Regions from separate parts of the Homo sapiens genome. Here region 2 is linked to region 1. Evidence: promoter capture Hi-C in 16 types of primary human blood cells and fetal thymus (Javierre and others, 2016). All regions are on one chromosome and are shown on one strand. The core of a region is centred on a gene start or on the middle of the fragment in contact, and the rest is flanking DNA. Distances in the headings are between cores, read along the strand shown. Region 1 holds the start of DSP (desmoplakin). Region 2 overlaps SSR1 (signal sequence receptor subunit 1).

The links. The method cuts DNA at HindIII sites, captures the fragments that hold promoters and counts their contacts. A CHiCAGO score of 5 or more calls a contact.
Region 2: a contact is called between a fragment that was not itself captured here and the fragment with the promoter of DSP in region 1, in 1 of 17 cell types (naive B cells). The highest score is 5.5, in naive B cells.

The regions. Positions count from the first base shown.
Region 1 is chr6:7,537,724-7,542,920 of GRCh38, forward strand. It overlaps DSP (desmoplakin), which reads left to right and starts at 3,948. Exons shown (of 24, transcript NM_004415.4): 1 at 3,948-4,362. The coding sequence starts at 4,193. DSP-AS1 (DSP antisense RNA 1) reads right to left here. Exons shown (of 2, transcript NR_183331.1): 2 at 2,728-3,330. RefSeq lists an enhancer at 1-1,936. The HindIII fragment of the contact is 6,836 bases long and covers 701-5,197 here.
Region 2 is chr6:7,291,921-7,297,532 of GRCh38, forward strand. SSR1 (signal sequence receptor subunit 1) reads right to left here. Exons shown (of 8, transcript NM_003144.5): 7 at 3,472-3,565. Among named protein-coding and RNA genes, the nearest start is that of SSR1, 18 kb to the right of the region's middle. The HindIII fragment of the contact is 8,134 bases long and covers 1-5,612 here.

The DNA of each region.
Region 1 (5,197 bases), core at 2,698-5,197:
GCAGAACAGTTATTTTAACTCATGGGCTATAAATCTTCTTGTGATGAAGAGGTATCATTTACCAACACAAAGATATAGAGAGTTCCCATGGGATTTTGAGCAAGTAAATGATTCTTCTTAATCTCACTGAAATCAAAGTGTCGTTTTCTTTTAAAAATCTGCTCTGAATATGACTGATTCGTCTTTCCTAACTGCAAGGTGATTTCTAAGGTCAGCCAGAGAGAAAGTTGCCTGTCAGTGATCTGTTTTATCAGTACAAGGGGAGCTATCTATGAGTGGCAGGGAAAAAATAGCTGACCTTAGGTCAGCCAGTGAAGACTCTGCCAGACTTTGGATTCTGATTTTTTAAACCAAGTTGTAAGAAAACAAGCTACTTTTAAACCTCTTTGCTGCGCTTTCAAAATTCTATAAATATACCTTCATTATAGCATACTTAATGTTGTATTGTAATTATTTGTTTTACTACTGCAGACTTTGATATCCTGCAGAAAAAGAGTCATGCTTTATTCATCTTCATGTGTCTAGCATTGAATCTGTTGTGTAACATGGTAGATGTTCAATAACTGCTTTCTAAATGAATGCATCTTAAATGTGTCCAAGAGGGAGGTTTACTGATTTACATGTGGGATAAAGACAGGAACATTAACGGTTAAAATTTCGCATCCAGCAAAGAACTTTTGGCTTAACAGGTGGTACCTTAAGCTTTATATGTTTCACAGTGTTCAAGAATGTTCACGTATTTTATCTCATTTGACCCTCACTGTGGATTTGGAAGGTTGGCAGAGCAAGTGTTATTTCCATTATACACATGAAGAAATTGAGCTCTTGCATAAGTAAATTGTAGCACTAAGATTATAACTATGGGCAAGTTATCCTCGCTCTTCACTGTGTGATGAGCCAACCTGGACAACTGATGTGTGTGTGTGTGTATGTGCATGTGTGTGGGTGTGTGTTGAGGTGGGGGGTGTTCCATCTGTCGGGCATGTCAATCTGTTTATTTTATCCTCTTATCTTTCTTTATCACCCTTAGAGAAAGATAAATGAAAGCCACTGTCTTCCTAGAGCAGGCATGTTTGGTAGCTGGAAGCCGTTCGTGTTCTTGGGGATGCCTGGAAAAGCCCAGGAAGCAGTAAGATGGGTGAGGAAGCAACGCAGCCAGAGGTGTGATTGGTGGCGTGGGCTCTTCGCCTCCTCCTCTGTTTTGCCTGCAGATTGAACAGTTTTGTGAGTCTGGGTGGTGTTTGGGTCTGTGTGGAGCCTGGTTCCTATGACCGTAAGGGGACCCTTGGCTAACAAGAGCTTTTGTTACCACTGGGGGGGTGGTTAATAGATATGTGGGTTTTTTTTAAAAGGATAATTCTACCGTGCAATTGTGTAGCCTCTTTATTACACATTAGGGAAGAATAATCCCTGAATTTTTTTTTTTTTTTTTTTTTTGAGACAGAGTCTTGCTCTGTTACCTGGGCTGCAGTGCAATGACACGATCTCTGCTCAATATAATCTCCACCTCCTGGATTCAAGTGATACTCGTGCCTTTGCCTCCCAAACAGCTAGGATTACAGGCGCCTGCCACCACACCCAGCTAATTTTTGTATTTTTAGTAGAGATGGGGTTTCATCATGTTGGCCAGGCTGGTCTCGAACTCCTGACCTCAAGTGATCCACCCGCCTCTGCCTCCCAAAGTGCTGGGATTACAGGCATGAGCCACCGCACGGGCCCCTGAATTTCTTAAATCAAAGTTTTACTATAATATATTTAAGGGCAGTGACTGGACCCTATTTATCTTTGTATGTTGCAGAGTATTTCCATATCCTAGGTTATAATTATTTGCTGAACAAATGAGATGCATAGAGGGAAAACATCCTAAATGAAATGTTGTACATTATGCACTGACATTTTCCCTCCATGCATGTCTTTCTCTCCTCCACCAATGGATATTATGGGCTGTTTGTGCAGAGGCTGACTTCCAGCCATTGATTCTGTTTGAGAAAAACCACCGTCTTGTCTATAGATCAGTGTTTGTACAGGTTGAGCATCCCTAATCTGAAAATCTGAAATCCAAAATGCTCCCAAATCCAAACTTTCTGAGCACTGACATGATGACCACAAGTGGCGAATTCCACACCTGACCTCATGTGATGACTTGCAGTCAAAGTGCAGTCAAAACTTTGTTTCATGCACAAAATTATCTAAAATATTGTATAAAATTACCTTCAGGCCATGTGTATAAGGCATATAGAAAACATAAATAAATTTCATGTTTAGGCTTGAGTTCCATCCCCAAAGATCTCTCGTTACGTCTATGCAACTATTGCAAAATCCAAGAAAATCCAGAATCCAAAATATTTCTGGTCCCAAGCATTTTGGATAAGGGGTACTCAATCTGTATAATCATTTAAACACTTGACCACTTTGGTTTTATTAAAGATTCGAGGAAATTGAGACTACGATGCAAATTATTGGTTGTGCTAACAGTGATAAACTTTTATCTCATTATATGTGTTTACTCCTTGAATTTAAGACGTTCAGCTGTAAAAAGAAAAAGAACAAGACATTTTGTCAAAAATTATGCCTAAAGGGTCAAGTTGTCATGAGAAGTGCTATAATACGACAAATTTTAGAAAGTCCCCCCCACTCCCTTTACAACATAAAAATGTAGTTTTTTATTTTTGTTTTCAGTTCATAAACATTTTGGAAACGCACTGTATCAGAAGGTAATTAGCGGCATTGTTTGGAAAGATGAAAAATTTATTAGAAAAGATCTTTAAATGGCTTTTACTAAAGCGTCATTTAACAATTTTTCATATTATAGAAACAGCTTTTCATGGATGGTGTGACTGGGTCTGTATCCAAACCCGGTTCGGTTCCTGGAGCCAACGGCGTAGTTAACACTCAGCCTCTTGCAGTTAACACTCAGCCTCTTAACTGGGAGTGGCCCTGGAGCAAGTCGCTGGAATGTTCAAGCTCCGCGTCACTCATCGGTACCAAGTTGATGATCTCTGCCTAGGGTTCTTCGCCACCCTCAGGCTCAAGTCCCAGGAGGCCTCCTCCGCTGACTTGGGTGAACAGCTCTGAGTTCCGGAGAGGGTTCGGTCTGCGGAGAAGCGCGCGAGAGACAAGCATCCTCAAGGTTCTGGTACAAAATTTGGAAAATGGACCTGGCGTTGAAATCTTTACTCCTCGTTTAAAAAGACCATCGAAAGGGAAAAAATAAAAGAAATTGCAGTTTATATTTTTGTTATCCCATGAAAAATTAGCTGCAGTGTTTTCCTCTTCATGCCAAAGAGATTAATATTTACGGTGAAGACTTTTCCAGGAAGTCGTGGTTTTCTGTAAAAAAAGGTTTTACACATCAGAAATCGGACTTCTGGGGCAATTTCCTGAATTCCTGGAATAAAACAAAACAAAAAAAAGCCCCCAAACAAAACTCTATCATCTAAAGCGTTCCCTCCTCACTGTGGTCCTAGTCAATGCGTGGTAGGTAGCGTTTCCAGTGATCAACAAAAGTAAATATTTGACCAGTAAGTCTCCAATCGAGAGGCCCCTCCATTCCAGCTATTTCCGCCCGGGGACCGAGGAAATCCTCAAAAGCCGGGCCACGCATTCCCAGCCCGAGAGGCCCCAGCGCAGAGCGCAGCAGCCCCCGCGAGCGCAGGTCCTCCCCGCGGTGGCTTCGCCCAGGGCGCTTGGGTCTCGGGGACCCCGCCCCCGCCCCGCCCGGTGTTACTCAGGCCTCGGTGGCGCAGGGCGGAGTCGCGGGCGGCGGGCGCAGGTGGGGAGGGGCGGCCGGAGCGCGTCGGTGACACCCGCGGGGGGGCGGGGAAGGCGCGGCGGCCGCACCCCACCCTGGGAAGAAACCGGCCAGGTGTGGCCTAGGCGCCCAGTGCCAGCGGGGAGGAGACTCGCTCCGCCGCCGACCAACACCAACACCCAGCTCCGACGCAGCTCCTCTGCGCCCTTGCCGCCCTCCGAGCCACAGCTTTCCTCCCGCTCCTGCCCCCGGCCCGTCGCCGTCTCCGCGCTCGCAGCGGCCTCGGGAGGGCCCAGGTAGCGAGCAGCGACCTCGCGAGCCTTCCGCACTCCCGCCCGGTTCCCCGGCCGTCCGCCTATCCTTGGCCCCCTCCGCTTTCTCCGCGCCGGCCCGCCTCGCTTATGCCTCGGCGCTGAGCCGCTCTCCCGATTGCCCGCCGACATGAGCTGCAACGGAGGCTCCCACCCGCGGATCAACACTCTGGGCCGCATGATCCGCGCCGAGTCTGGCCCGGACCTGCGCTACGAGGTGACCAGCGGCGGCGGGGGCACCAGCAGGATGTACTATTCTCGGCGCGGCGTGATCACCGACCAGAACTCGGACGGCTACTGGTGGGTACCTGCCCGGAGAGCGCGGGCTGCGGGGCTCGCGGGACAGGGAGGGACCGTCCTCCTCTGGACGACTGGGAGACTCGGGTCCCGAAGGTGGAAAGGTTTTTTTGCCCCAGGTCCCGAAAGAACTTCCCGGCCGCGCTGGGAGCAGGACCGGGTGTCCTGACGCGTGCGGGGACAGGTTGGCCCCTGTCCTGCGAACAGGGACTCGGTCGTACCTTTCTCCCCTCCCGCGAGCCCGGGCGGGTGGTCAGAGGGGGCGTCGGGCCCGCGCGGGGCTGTCCCCTGCCTGCTGGACACGGCTGCAGCCGCCTTTGTCCCAGCCCGCGAATGGGAGGTCAGGCGAGGTGGGGCTGCGACCACAAAACCCAACCTCTCCAACCGTAATCAAAGTAAAAGAGGAAAGGAGCGGGGCCCCGGTCCTGTCTGGTGGCCGAGTGGTGCTCGGGGCTCCGCAGTCTCTACCGGCTCACCCCCAATCCCCAGTAACCCCGAGACCACGACTGCAACGACTCCTGGACTCCTCGGCCACCCAAGGACGTTTGTATCAAGGCTGCGCGTCCCGGCGGCGCGGGGTCCTGTCCCGAGGAGGCGCTTCGGCTTCCCCTGTCCGGGAAACGAAACTTCCCCGCCGGGGCGGCTGCCGGGCCCGGGTCTCGAAGTTCGGCCGGGACGTGCCTGTTACCTTCGGTCGTCCGCGCCGCAGCCCCCGCGGGCGAGCGCACCTGGGGCCCTGCCTCTGAGCCTTTTGTTTCCTCCTTTTTAAAAACACCGGATGAAAGACCCCAGTGTGCCTTGGATCGCAGAGCGCCGGCCGCATGTCTGCTTTGATCCA
Region 2 (5,612 bases), core at 852-3,351, 250 kb before region 1:
AATTCAGCTGGGCATGGTGGTGTGCGTCTGTAGTCCCAGTTATTTGGGAGGCTGAGGTGGGCGGATTGAGCCCAGGAGGTCGAGGATGCAGTGAGCCATGATCACGTAACTGCACTCCAGCCTGGGTGACAGAGTGAGATCCTGTCTCAAAAGAAAAAAAAACAGATGTGTAGCTCCCATGACTTGAGCTACCACTGATGCTATATGTCCCAATGTTTCCAAATCTTGATTCACTTGTGCTCTGAAACAGAACTTTCAAATGTTTCCTGGACATCCTTATCTGGGAGTCCCAAAGGTTTTTCACACTCAGCATAGCTAATCCAAACACATCTCTCCTCATCCTTCCATGCTTCTCTTTCCTAGATTATGGGACATTAATGGGATCAGCTTTCACCCAGTTGCCTAAGTTCAGAATGCTCTTTCATTCCTCCCTCACTAACACATCCAGTCATAAAAAACCCCATCTACTCCACCTGTGAAACATCCTTCTACTCCCTTTTACTCCTATCACCACTGCCTCTGCTTAGGCCCCAGTGACTTCTGTGCTTTACTGAAATCGCGGAACTGGTAACCCTGCTTCCAGCAGCTCCTTTGCAGTCCTCCACAAAGTGATCCTAATTTTTCCTTTCTTTTCTTTTTTTTCTCTTAGAGATGGGAGACTTGCTATGTGGCCGAGGCTGGATTCGAACTTCTGGGCTCAAGCGATCCTCCTGCCTTAACATTTCCAGTAGCTGAGACTACATGTGCACACCACCATGCCCAGCTTACCATAATTTTTAAAACACAATTGTAATTCCTCTCCTTTAAAGTGGCTCTTTGACCTAGGAGTCAAAAGTTGTTAGCATAGCTCATAAAACCTTAAAGACTCCTTCTCACCCAACCTTTCAAGACTCGGGTCTAGTGCTGACCTCCTCCTGTGCTCTTGTTACTTTGAACCCACCTTTCATAAAGCAACTGCTATACTGCAATATGACAGCTAGCTCACAGAAAGAGACAGCTAGCTCACAGAAAGCAGTAGAGAAAACAATTTAAAAATGGAAAAGGACCTGAACAGCCAATTCACAGGAAAAGAAACCCTAGCCAATACAGTCATCTCTATTATCTGCAGGAAATTAGTTCCAGGACTACTCCCCCACGGCAACCCCACCCAAATCCAGGCATACTGAAGTTCCGCTGTCAGCACTGAGGAACCGGTGGATACAAAAAGCCTTCCCTGTACTTAGGTTTGGTATCCTGCAAAAACTGTGATTTCCTTTTTTTTTTTTTAATAGATTTTATTTTACTATTATTTCACTAGTTTTGAGGGACAGATGGTGTTTGGCTACATGGGTAAGTTCTTTAGTGGTGACTTCTGAGACTCTGGCGCATCCATCACCCAAGCTGTGTATACGATAACCCATGTGTAGTCTTTTATCCCTCACCCCCCTCCTACCCTTCCCCGAGTCCCAAAAGTCCATTATATCATTCTTATGCCTCTGCGTCCTCAGAGCTTAGCTCCTCAATGATTTCCTTTCCTCCCCACCCCCACCTTTTCTTTTGAGACAGAGTCTCACTGTCACCCAGGCTGGAGTGCAGTGGCACCATCATGGAGCAATCACGGACCTACCAGGCTCAAGCAATCCTCCCACCTCAGCCTAGGCGCACGTCAACACATGTATTTTTTTTTCATTCTTTGTAGAGATGGGGTCTCACTATGTTGCCAAGGCTAGTCTCAAACTCCTGGGCTCAGGCGATCCTCCTGCCTCAGCCTCCCAAAGTGCTGGGATTACAGGTGTGAACCACCACGCCTGGCCAAATATTGTATTTTTTATCTGCTTTTGGTTGCAGATGTGGAACCCACCAATATACCGAGGGTCAATTATATTGAAAAAATCTGTATATAAAGTGAAACCCAAGCAGTTCAAACCTGTGTCTTTCAAGGGTCAACTATGAATATGTATAAAGGAGCTGAACCTCATTCTTAAAGAAATGCAAATGAAACAGTAAGACACTCATTTTATATCATACCGACAGATTAAATAGGCAATATTGTGCATGGTTGAGAACATAAATTGGCACTACCTTTTTTTCCCCTTTTAGGAGGGAAATGGGGTCCCTTCCATAAAAATTCAGTGTATTTAATCTTAGACCTAGTTACTCTACCTTTAAGAAGTTATCCTATAAATTTATATATAAGAATATTCATTACAGTATCATCTGTAGGAGTGAAAAAATAAAAGTAACCAATATCCTTCCAATACAGAACAGGTTTAATCTATCATGACATACATATATATATAAAATAATATTGTCTAGTTGTAAAAAAACAGTTTAGTAAATATTTATGTAGTTACTACAAAGAGACATCCAAGGTATGAAAACTGAAGTTGTAGACAGCATGATGCAATCTGAACTAAATACTCACATAAAAACAATAGGCGTATATGCTTATAGATATATAGAAATTAATGGAAAATATAAACATAATACCATTTATGAAAAATAGGGCCGGGCGTGGTGGCTCACGCCTGTAATCCCAGGACTTTGGGAGGCCGAGGCTAGCGGATCACTTGAGGTCAGGAGGTCGAAGCCAGCCAGGCCAACATGGTGAAACCCTGTCTCTACTAAAAATACAAAAAAAATTAGCCGGGCGTGGTGGCACGTGCCTGTAATCCCAGCTACTTGGGAAGCTGAGGCAGGAGAATCACTCGAACCCAGGAGGCGGAGGTAGCAGTGAGCCAAGACCATGCCACTGCACTCCAGCCTGGGCGACAGAGCAAGATTCCATCTCAAATAAATAAATAAATAAATAAATAAATAGGATTAATGAAGTCAGGAATTGACTTATTTTTTTCACTTCTGTACTATTTAATTTTTTATAATGAGGCTGCATTGGTTTTATAATAAACATTTTTAAAATGTCCTACAATTGAAGAAACATTTCTATATTCTTTTATAAAGGTTAGTATTTTAACTGAATATGTAATAAAACTGAAATGTATCTGTAAAATAAATTGTCGGGTAATATTTTAGGTTTATTCTTTCAAGTTATACTGGGTAGTTTTTCTAATAAAATGTAGTAAGAAAAATTGTTCCATTACTCATTAAACTTGACGTAAAATATTTACGTGCTATTTGAGAGCCCCCAATTCTCTAGCAAAAACCATTAAAAAAATTAAATGCCTCACCTCTTCTACTCTGCACTGAAGCAACAGAAAGAAAAGAGACAGGAAATGGATTAGGAACACAGAAAATTCACACATTCATAAATAAGCTGCAGATCTGGAAGAATTTCCAAATTAAAGCATAAGAAGACTACACACTGAATAAACCTTTAAGGTCTTAATTAATCACTATACTAGATTCTACACAAGTAATGGAAAAGATGAATGTTAAATAGTACTGAAAAAGTTTTTTTTTTAAACTAAATCTAAGGTATTTAATTTCCACTTAAGAGAAAAACTTCCCAGCCAAGTCTGTAAGACTACTTACTGATTTGATTCAATGTTTCCTGAGGAATCCAACTCATGTCAACATCATTCTGACTTGATGTACCCATTTCTACTTTCTGTATGGGTCTCTTACGCTAAAAGAACATAAAGACATATTTTAAAGGAGTTCCGTTACACCATTTACTTAATATTTTTTAAAAAAGAGTTGAGGTCTTGCTATGTTGCCCAGGCTGCCTGGAACTCCTGGGCTCAAGCAATCCTCCTGCCTGAGCCTCCCAAGTAGCTGGGACTATAGGCACATACTATCATGACCAGCTGTTTACTCTAATTTTTAAAACACCTATCAAATTACTTAATTTAAATATCTTGGTAAACAAGTTATATTCTCTTCTAGTCTTCCTAGAACATACTTCTACTCAAATACTTTATTAAAGGGAAGGAGAAAATCATGTCTAGTACTGATGATAAAGAATAAATCTTCATCACATTTATTTTCAGGCTTTAAAGACCTTTCCCCTTGCTATAAAGGTTCATGTTATGTACCACTGGTGGACCACATAAGAGTATCTATTTATACAATGACTTTATTTCCCTTTAGGAATCAAATTGTAATCAAAGAATAAATTTATTTCTATATTCAACAAAATTCAGGATAACTGCTGATATGTTACATGCAGGCAGTTTCTGCATCGTAAGCTAAATACAATTAAACAGTTGGCACAGACAAAACAAAACGAAACCATAAAATCTCATTAAGCTAACCACCTCAATTTAAGAACTTCAAACTTTCTCCCTAGAGTATTTACAGCAAAACTGCTAGAAAGTAAAAATGACTCATTTAGCCTTGCTTTAAAAAAAAACCCAAGAAACCAACAAACCTCAGTTTATCTACATAAGAAACAGTATTAATTATATAATCCGTAAGTTAGAACCTAAGTACATGGAGAGATAACTTAAAAATAGTTTCATTTAAATAGAAGAAAAATGGAGATGCAGTTATACCTAATATACAAATTTACAGCAAAAATTCCAACCATTATGACAATGAGGCAAAGCGAGTTTTAGAAATTAACATTTAAACACAAAGTATTTCTCTTTTAAAGAGAAAGAGCTTATTAATAACATTCATTGTTAATTTTAATATAGATTTGACTGCCTGACTAAAGGCTTAATAAATAATCGCCAAAATGATTAGCAACTGTTTAGGGTCTAATGAATTATATTAACATATTTGATAAAATTGTTTATATTTTCCCACTGAGAGAAATAGTATAGGTTTTGTTTTTGTAGGCTGGAGGGAAGGAAAGGAGGAGGGTGAGTGAGGGAAGGAAAGGAGGAGGGTGAGTGAGGGAAGGAAAGGAGGAGGGTGAGTGAGGGAATGGGGAAGAGGAGGGAAATAAGGATGTGGTAGGGAATGAATCCAGAGTGAGAACCATGATCGTGGCAGACCCTAGGTGTTACCATTTTATTACTCTAACCACAAAAACAGAATTTTGACTGAGAGAACAAAATGTATTAGTTCTTTTTCCAATGAAAGGACTTGTTTATTAATTAAGGATTGTTTCTATAATTAAGAGTATTAACGCAGGCTGAGTGTGGTGGCTCATGCCTACAATTCCAACACTTTGGGAAACCAACATGAGAGGACAGCTTGAGCCCAGGAGTTCGAGACCAGCCTGGGCAACATGGCGAAACCCTGTCTCTACAAAACATACAAAAATTAGCTGGGTGTGGTGGCGTGCACCTGTAGTTCGACTACTCAGGAAGCTGAGGTGGGAGGATGACTTGAGCCCCGAAGGCGGAGGTTGCAGTAAGCAAGATTGTGCCACTGCACTCCATCCTGGATGAAAGAGCCAGACTGTCTCAAAAAAAAAAAAAAAAAAAAGAATATTAAAGAAAATATAAAAGCTAGGTTACTTGCAGATAAAATAGCATACCCATTAAAAAGTAAAGTAAACAGAACAATAAAATCTGAGTTTAGGGAATAAAAATTCTAGCATTTAGAGCTACAATACCAATCCAAAGGTAAATATCACTCTGGAGGGCACAAAGGACAATAAATAATTGTATGTGTGTATGAAAGTCTAAATGAGGCCAGGTGCAGTGGCTCACACCTGTAATCCCAACACTTTGGGAGGCCAAGGTGGGCAGATTGCTCGAGTTCAGGAGTTTGAGACCAGC